Regions from separate parts of the Homo sapiens genome. Here region 2 is linked to region 1. Evidence: promoter capture Hi-C in human tissues and cell types (Jung and others, 2019). All regions are on one chromosome and are shown on one strand. Each heading gives the region's core, a stretch centred on a gene start or on the middle of the fragment in contact. The rest is flanking DNA. Distances are from core to core; before and after follow the strand shown. Region 1 holds the start of ELK3 (ETS transcription factor ELK3). Region 2 overlaps ELK3 (ETS transcription factor ELK3).

The links. Contacts are between HindIII fragments. The study calls those that stand out against the background at their distance.
Region 2: a contact is called between a fragment that was not itself captured here and the fragment with the promoter of ELK3 in region 1, in 1 of the 25 tissues and cell types used here (heart right ventricle).

Annotation. Positions count from the first base shown.
Region 1 is chr12:96,191,938-96,196,351 of GRCh38, reverse strand. ELK3 (ETS transcription factor ELK3) reads right to left here and starts at 1,977. Exons shown (of 5, transcript NM_005230.4): 1 at 1,647-1,977. RefSeq lists an enhancer at 602-681 and a silencer at 2,013-2,152. The HindIII fragment of the contact is 13,150 bases long and covers 1-4,414 here.
Region 2 is chr12:96,246,136-96,250,549 of GRCh38, reverse strand. It overlaps ELK3 (ETS transcription factor ELK3), which reads right to left. Exons shown (of 5, transcript NM_005230.4): 3 at 2,816-3,610. Among named protein-coding and RNA genes, the nearest start is that of ELK3, 54 kb to the right of the region's middle. The HindIII fragment of the contact is 8,099 bases long and covers 1-4,414 here.

The DNA.
Region 1 (4,414 bases), core at 728-3,227:
ACACATACACACGCGGGAAAGAAAAACCTGCAAATCTGAAATCCAAAATGGCCAAAGTGACTTCAAAGTTTTCAAGACATGTCCTGAAAAGGCTCGTTGGGCGGCTGCACCCCTAAGTAAATAAAGCCATAACTTGTCTCCTTCCCCAGCGCCGGGCTCCCAGGCTGACAGTGGCTGCACAAAACCCCTCCTGTGCCGAGCAGCGGAAACTCCTAATGAGATTAGTTGGTGTGTGTGCAGACATTACTTAGCAATGACTAAGGGGGCTCTCTCTTCCTGCAGCAGCCAGTGGAAAATTCAAGGAACTTTTTCCCCCTGCAGCAGCAGAATCCCTTTAACCCTCTCCGCAGCCAACTCCAAAAACAACTCAGCCTCCCCTTTCCCCGCCACCCCCAGGCTGGAGGACTGGGGTGGGGGTAGTTAAAGACCGGCCAGGGGCTTTCAAATGAGGGAGGGTGGGAGGGGGCTGGCGGGGAAGGGGCGGGGGACCCCTCGAACACTACAAAGGAAACTGTAAAAGGCACAAATACATAAACCTAAGAAGGAGCAAACCACAGTTTCTTTGTGAGCTCCTCTAGTGAGTCATTTTCAAGATGCTGTCTGCTGCCAGTTTCAAAGCGGAAGCGCATGGCAATTAGTCTTGCCGTTTCCAGACAAGCCAGAAACTCTCCCGACACTCGTTTTTTTTTCTTTCTAAAAAGCCCCTTTTGCAGTTTCTGAAATAACATTTCTTGCTTCCACCTCCACCCGCCGCCTAACTGCAGCTTGTCCCTAGGATGATTCGGTTCAGAAAAGATAACAAAACCAAGACCTTTTATTTTTGCTTTTTAACTACTCCAAAATCTTAATCCCGCCTCCCCAAAAGTTACAGTAGCGTCACAGGCCAACGTTGAGTTCGAAGGTAAACAGGGATGGGGAGTGGAAGGGGCCCCAAGATCATTTCTTGCCTGGTCCTTCTCCAAAACCATGCCCAATAGAGACCACCGGCTTTTAAATGTCCGATGGGGCGTGCGCCTGGGGCGGTGACCTGGGCGGGGGTCACCTGCCAAGCGAGAGTGGACGCAGCCCCCAGCCCCACACCTTCGCGACCCATGTCCTCCACCGCCCTCTCCATCCCTGTCTTCCTCCCTGGATCCGAGCACCAGTGCACTTTGCCCACTCGAGGGGAGCCTGACTGCGGTCCCAGCTGGAAGGTCGGCGGTGGTCCAGCCTCCAGGCACTCAGCCTGCTCCTGCCACGGTTCTTCCCAGGGACCCGAAGTCTCGCCGTCCCCCGCTCCCCGCGCTGCCTGCAGCGGGGCCCTGGGCGAGCTCCCAGGGTTGCACGCCCGGCGCCCCTTCCTCTGGGGTCGCAGCGCAGCCCCAGGGAGGGGAGCCGCGGGCGCAGGGTCCCCGCAGCCCCGGGCCCGGCGCGAGCTCGGGCGACGGCGGTGGCAGCGACGCGGGCGCAGGAGCATCCGCGGCGCCCCCTCCCCGCGGCCGGCCCTCCCGCGCGGACGCACCGCCACCCCCACCCCGGCCCGCAGCCCACCCCGCGGCGCCCCCCGCCCCACCCCCACCGCGCCCAAGAAAAGAAAGAAAAAAAGAAAACACCCCCAAACAAACTTTTTAAGTGTCCGAGCAACAGGCAGAAGCCCTGTTACCTACCCAGATGTGGGGGAGTCTTCTTCGGGGGGAATTTCTAGGAGGACCCGGGCGAAAGCCCCCGACTTTCCATGCTGACAGGCGTCTGCAGACGGTCTGTGGCTCTTGTAATGAGATCCTGATTTTTCCCCCTTTTTTTCTTTCTCTCGCTCCTCTTTTTTTTTCCCCTCTGGTGTGTGTGAGAGCAGGAAGTTGGAGCAGTCAGGCCGAGCCGGCTCACTTCCTTTACTGCATTATTCCCCAGGCGGTGTGCAGTCTGTGTAAACAGGCTTTTCCGCCCCGCGCCGCGCGCCCCGGCCGCGGCTGTGCGCCGGGGCTGGCCGCCCAGGCCCGCGCCTCCCCCGCCGCCCCGGCCCCGTGCGCGCCCCGCACCGCCCCCACCCGCCCCGCTTCCTGCGCGGCCACCCCGGGGAGGAGCCTCCGACCCGCGGCGACTCCGCGCGGCCGCAGCCCCTCCCCACGGGGAGGGGGGTCCGCCCGCAACCCGCAGAAGCCGCCGCGCTTCCCGGGACACCGGGGATCCCTCCTCACCTCAACCCCTGGGGGTCGAGCGCGCGGGGCACCACGACGGGGTCGTGCCCTGCGCAGTTGGCCCGGGAGGGGGGTCCCGAGGTGGGGAGGCGGCTGGACTCGCTGTTTCCCATCCGCTGGGATGGAAGAGTTGGGGGGCAGAGGGGAATCGAGAGTGGGGTTCAGGGTTTGGTTGCTCTGGGCAAAGGACTGCTTTTCTTGTGGGTGCGGGCACAGTTTCCGTCTGGGGTTGGAGATGGACACCGTTCCTGTCTGGGTTTTCGGTGTTTTAAAAGCCAGCCCTCGGCCGGGCGTGCTGGCTCACGCCTGTAATCTGAGCACTTTGGGAGGCCAAGGCGGATGGATCACCTAAGGTCAGGAGTTCGAGACCAGCCTGGCCAACACGGCGAATCCCCGTCTGTACTAAAAATACCAAAACAACAACAACAAAAACAGCCAGGTGTGGTGGTGGGTCCCTATAATCCCAGCTACTTGGCAGGCTGAGGCGAGAGAATCGCTTGAACCTGGGAGGCAGAGGTTGCAGTGAGCTGAGATCGCCCCATTGCACTCCAACCTGGGCAACCAGCGAAACTCCGTCTCAAAAAAATAAAAAAGCCAGCCCTCAGTTGGGGGGCGAGCCTGTGGGGAAAGGATAAGGAGCCACAACACTGGAAGTCATGGAAATAATGCCCGCAGGGTCAGAGACTGAGGCTTGAAGGGAGCCTCTGTGGTCTCAGAACTGGTCTTCACACCTCCACATCCCTCAAGGAGGTCCTGCCTCTGAGGGCTCAGGCCAGGCTCTGATGGGAGAGCCTGCCCATTGCCCTAGGCTGAGACAAGGTTGGGGGGGATGGCTGTTGAAGAGCCTCTCCCTTCCCAGGCCTGCGCCCCAACCTCACTGCTCACCTTCCAGAACCTTCCATTCCCATGCCGCCACTTAGCAGCCCAGACCCCTGGTTTTCAAACTTGACCCAAGGGGCTTGTTAAACCACTAGTGGCTGGGCCTCTCCTGGAGTCCCAGATTCAGTAGGTCGGGGGTGGTTCCGGGCCCCGGCTAATGTCAGAATCACCTGGGGAGTGTTTTGACACTCTCCAACAATATACTCAACCCAGGCCAATTAAGTCAGATTCTCTGGGGGCCGGGTGTGAGTCCTTTCAAAAGGACCACATTCTAAGAGTTCCTCCACTACGTTTGTTTCTAGTTTTGCAGTCTCTCCTGAAAGATTATTTTGTTTACAAATTTCTCACTGCCATCAACTGTGAGCTGCTAAAGGGCACGGGGTATGTTTTACTGATTAGTACCACATCCCAGCTCCAAGTGCCTATCAGAGCACACAGGTGATAGGAATTTCCTTCGGGCATTTGCTTCAGGGCTCCTGTGGGTAGTCCACTGGAAAGGGTGGGAGAATGCCCTCCAGACCTCTGAGAAGGAGTGGGAAACCCGTGGGGTGTAGGGTGGGGGCACGGTAGGAGAGTGGGGCAGAAGGAGAAGATATGGAAAAGAGGGCTGCTTATCAACCCCTGATTTCCCACAGCTAATTTTCCAATTAGGGTATTATTGTTTTAATCCCCAGTCATCTTCTTCTGTCACTCAGTAGAACACCTATGGTGTCCCTATATGATCCAGCTGTTGGACTGAGAGAATGTAAACTTATTATCCTCAGGGAAAAAAAAAAAATCCACACAGTTAAGAACTCATGTTGCTTTGCTTTAGGAGATATATGCCTGAAAGAAACCGGTCTGAAAAGGCTATGTTCTGTATGATTCCAAACTATATGACATTTTGTAAAAGGCACTATGGAGATAGTACAAAAGATCAGTGGTTGTCAGGGGTTAGCAGGGAGGGAGGGGTGGACAGGAGGAGCACAGAGGGCAAGGAAACTACTACTCGGTATGATACTATAATGGTGGACACATTTGTTAAGACCCACAGAATATACAACACCAAGAATGAACTCTAATGTAAACCATGGACTTTGGGTGATAGTGATGTGTCAATGTAGATTCAATTACAACAAAGGTACCACTCTGGTGGGGGATGTTGATGATTGGGGAAGCTGTACACGTGTCAGGGCAGGAGGTATATGGGAAACCGCTGTGCCTCCTTCTCAGTTTTGCTGTGAGTCTAAAATCACTTTAGGGTTGGGCATAGTGGCTCACGCCTGTAATCCCAACACTTTGGGAGGCCGAGGTGGATGGATCACCTGAGGTCAGAAGTTCGAGACCAGCCTGGTCAACATGGTGAACCCCCATCTCTACTA
Region 2 (4,414 bases), core at 1,419-3,918, 54 kb before region 1:
ACCTGGAAGACAAACTACTGAGCTGGTGCTGGTGGGTGAGTTTCTGGGGCACCCCCTGAAGCAGCTCCCAGGGGAGGGAATCTGAGAGTCCAAATCTGACACTGACATACCCTAATCCTAAACCACCCCTGGCTTCAAGATATCCTATCTGATCTCAGGGAATCCGCCTGGGTGAAACCGGCTGCAAGAACTCAACTCTGAATAAGTACCACACCCCTGACTACCACCCGGGCCCCTCTGGTGTCTCCCTCATTGCCCCTTCTCTCCCTCCCTGTTGGCCACCCATGGCCATGCCAGGAGCAGAGCCCACACTCTGGGAATGTGAGGGAAGTTCAAAGTGGGGTCTGAGTCCCGAGGCTCTACCATCTCCCAGTGTAGCTGGTGACCCCCTTAGTTTTGCGTGGTTTAGAGGACTGCCTGGTGCCCCTCCTCCTCCTTTGACCCGAAGGCCCTCTCTGAGCCAGGTCCCTTTACTTCCACTCTCCTGCCCTGGGTCCAGATGCTGCCTGTTGCCTCCCTCCCCTCAGGACCATTTCTGGGCTTCCTGGCACTAAATCATCACAGCCCCACCCTCACAGCTTGGCTGAGGACCAGGCACCCTCACTGCCTAAGGCACAGGTCCTCTTGTAAAGATCCTGGCTTTCCTACGCCTTCCCACCTAGTTTCAGGCCATGCTGGTGGCTTCTGGCTCCTGGTCGTGCCCTCTGCATCCATTTGTTGGGCATCCACCCTTGATCCTTCTCTCACGCCCTCAGCCCCACCGATGGGAGCCACCACTCCATCCACATTATCCACAGGGCTGGCTGAGCTGACTTCCTCTGAGACAGGGCTGGCATCTGCCTCACTCTGTTCTGAGAAGGTGATCCAGGCTCCCAGGGAACACAGACACCTAAATCAGAGTCAGCCCTGGCCTGGCTTCGGACCTTTCTCACCCTGACAGTTGTAAACACACAGGAGGCCAGGGGAGGAGATGCTCAGATCATCTACCCTGGCCCTGCCTCTCAAGATACTCCCCTGAGCTACATCAGGAGCTGCTGTTTCTGAGCCATTTGCTCAGCAGCCCTTGGTCACTGGACAGCCTTGCTTAACTGGAAGATGCCTGATTTAAGAGCACACGTGCTCACTCTGACCTATATCCTGATCCCCTGGCCCTCCCCCTCCGCAGTGGCGCGCGTCACCACCAGCTCACAGGCTTGAGCTGTCATGAAATCCTGGGCAGAATCCAGTCCAGAGAAAGCGTGGAGAGGACAGTGGCCCAGAGCTGCTTTCAGGTGCTCCATGGACGGCCATCGTGATCAGGGACACTGCCTTCTCGCAGCGGGAATGCATTTCATTTGAGAGCATGGATTCTGGAGGCAGACACTGGATCCAAAGCCACCTCTACCACCTATTGGCTGTGGGACCCTGGACGAACTACTTTACCTCTGTGCCTCATTTATCTCAGCTGGGAAACAGGATGATAATAATAGCACAGGCTCAGCATCCCAAATCCAAAAATTCCCAAATCCCAAATCCTCCAGAATCTGAAACTTTCTGAGTCCTGACATGACACTCCAAGGAAATGCTCATTGCAACATTTTGGATTTCAGATTTTCAGATGTGGGATATTCAACTGGCAAGTATCATGCAAATATTCCAAAATCTGAAAACATCTGAACTCTGAAATGCTTCTGGTCACAAGCATTTTGGAAACAGGATGCTCAACCTGTATCCACGTGACAGGGCTGCTGTAAGTGTGGATACAGGCAATGCATGTAAAGCATCTGGAGCAGTGCCTGGCACACGTGGGGAGCCCGTCATATGCTGCCGCGGCTGCTGCTAATGACAACAGGGACAACTACGATGAGATTACAGAGGCAGGGGACGGGTGCAGCTCCACGGTTAACAATGCTACCAGGTGTCCCCAGCTCACAAAGCCTGTCCATGGTCCCATTTTCCACACATGGAACCTGGCCCAGAGAGCAACCGCCCACAGTCCCACTCCTAGGAAGCAGGGTAGCCAGGAACTGAATGCAGGTCTGTGAACCTAAAACGAATACTCTTTTAACCTCTGCCACTAAAATTGCATCCAATTTTCAAGGGGAAGGAGAAATATGGTTTCCCAGCACCTACTACGCCTTTGCACTGCAATTGTCAGCTGGACAAGAAAGAGCATCTGAATATCTGATTTAAAGGAAAAGGCTGCTTTCTCTTTGGGACTAATAACAACGAAGGCTTTTTTGGCTCTGCAAGTTTGCTGTCCTCTCGCCAGTGCTGTGGACTGGGGCTTTCTCAGAGTAGTGCTGCTTTCAGCGAAGCAGCTGTTTGGGGTGGCCCCTTTGTTTCTTATTACCTACGCTATGACCACAGCTCCACACTGACATGCGATGGCGGCATCAGTTGACATCTATTTTCTTGTTAACAGAACACAAGTGGCTCCTTATTAAGCGCCCCCAGAGAAGATTCTGCCATAAAAATTTCATAAAGCCCAAGCGCCTCCCGAAATGTAAACTGGCCCGCTCAACTTTCCCTTGGAAATCGCTGGTGAGATCTGCTTTGTCGGCCAGTGTGCGTGTTCCACCTATGGTCACTTTAGGCCGCTAAAAGCAAGAAACCAATCAAGCATCCCACTAGAGTCGACAAACCAAACCCTGTCTCATGTGCACCCCTTGGTCTGAGGATGGAAAAGCAGCTTCCCTTCACATTTACACAGTGACCTCGGTACGAGTCATAGGACAACGTTTTGAGGGACAGAAGGAAGTCTCTTTAGTTGCTCTTCCTTTTTTGCTAAGCCACTGAAGCTGGCTGTGGCTTAGATGACAGGAATGACTCTTACCTGTGCGGTGAAGAAGGCTGGGGTGAGGGATCCCGAGGGGAGGGCTGGGCTGTTGAGGGCGATGGAGCCGATGTCGGTGCCGGAGAGCACCAGCGGGGGCGCTGAGATTTCCAAGCCTTTGGGTTTTTTGGCCTTTGGGGGAAGAGATGGAGACTTGGTCTTGGAGCCCGATGACAGGTTCAAGGGCTCCAGGGAATCGGAGTCATGGCAGGCGGCCTCCAGGAAGAGGCTTCTGTGTTCAGAAGGGAGGGGTGAGTTGGGGGACAGGGACGGGGACCGAGATGAGAAGGGTGAGGCGGATGAAATACTGGCAGCGTTTGGCAACATTAAAGAGGAGATCTTGGCCGAGACGGACGAGGCCAGGAAGGCGGACGCCGCCGCAGCCTCTGACGTGGAAGGCAGGGACACCACCGGCCTGGTGACGTGCTTGTCGGTTTTATTGGTCACAAACCTGATCACAGTCCTGACTTCTTCCACGGGGGGGCTGTCTTCGGGCGGCTCCTCCAGCTTCTCCGTCTTGATGGCCTTGAAGGCGTCTGGTGGGTTCTGCAGGGAATTAATGGTGAAGGACGAGTACAGGCCTGAGTGGATGTATTCGTTGCGGCTCGTGCTTCTGAGGGCGGCCAGGCCGTGTTTGTGGGCCTCGCGGCCCTCCGGAGACGCCTTGCAGTCGCTGTCCTGCAGCAGAAGGCTCTCCCGGCTGATCTCCACCGCGTGAGGATCCATCTTCAGGATCTCCGGGAAAGAGACAAACTTGTACACAAACTTCTGCCCGATCACCTTCTTGATGATGTTCTGCAAATACAAAAGTAGACGTTGAAAATCTGAGTGCACCCGAGAAACCATGTAAGAGCTCATGATAATGGTAAATGTCGCTGGCAGAAGCACCAAAATGTTCCTGATTTACATTCTTGGCTAAGGAAAAGTGGAAGGAGGAATGAAGTTGGAAGTAGAATTAGATGTGCATTCCAGTTCTGCCATTACTAGATCTTTGTGATCTTTGGCAAATTAAGTGCCACTTTGAGTTTCCTCGTCTGTAAAGTAAGGAAGATGATGATGATGATGATGATTTCTTAGACAGGGTCTCACTCTGTCGCACAGGCTGGAGTGCAGTGGCACGAACATGGCTCACTGCAGCCTCAACCTCCTGGACTCAAGCAATCCTCCTGCCTCCACCTCCTGAGTGGCTGGGACTACAGGTACATGCCACCACACCCTGCTAATTTTTACATTTTTATTTTTTGTGGAGACAGCATCTCACTTGGTTGCTCAGGCTGGTCTCAAACTCCTGGACTCAAGCAATCCCCCAACCTTGGCCGAGTGAGGATTATTCTATGTAATAACATAGTAACAGCTGCCATTTATGAAGCCTTTACTATGTGGATGGGATTATTCATATCTTATCTCATACAATCTGAACAGCAATCCTAAAAGGAAGGTGTTGTGACTCCTATTTTAAAAATTTGGAAAATAAGCTTAGAGCACTTCCCTAACTCACATGACCACCTGCTAGGAAGTGAAGTGGTAGAGGCAGCATGTCCTGAACCATAACACAGTATTGTCTTACCTACCTCTGCGAGTCAGAAGAATTCAATGAAA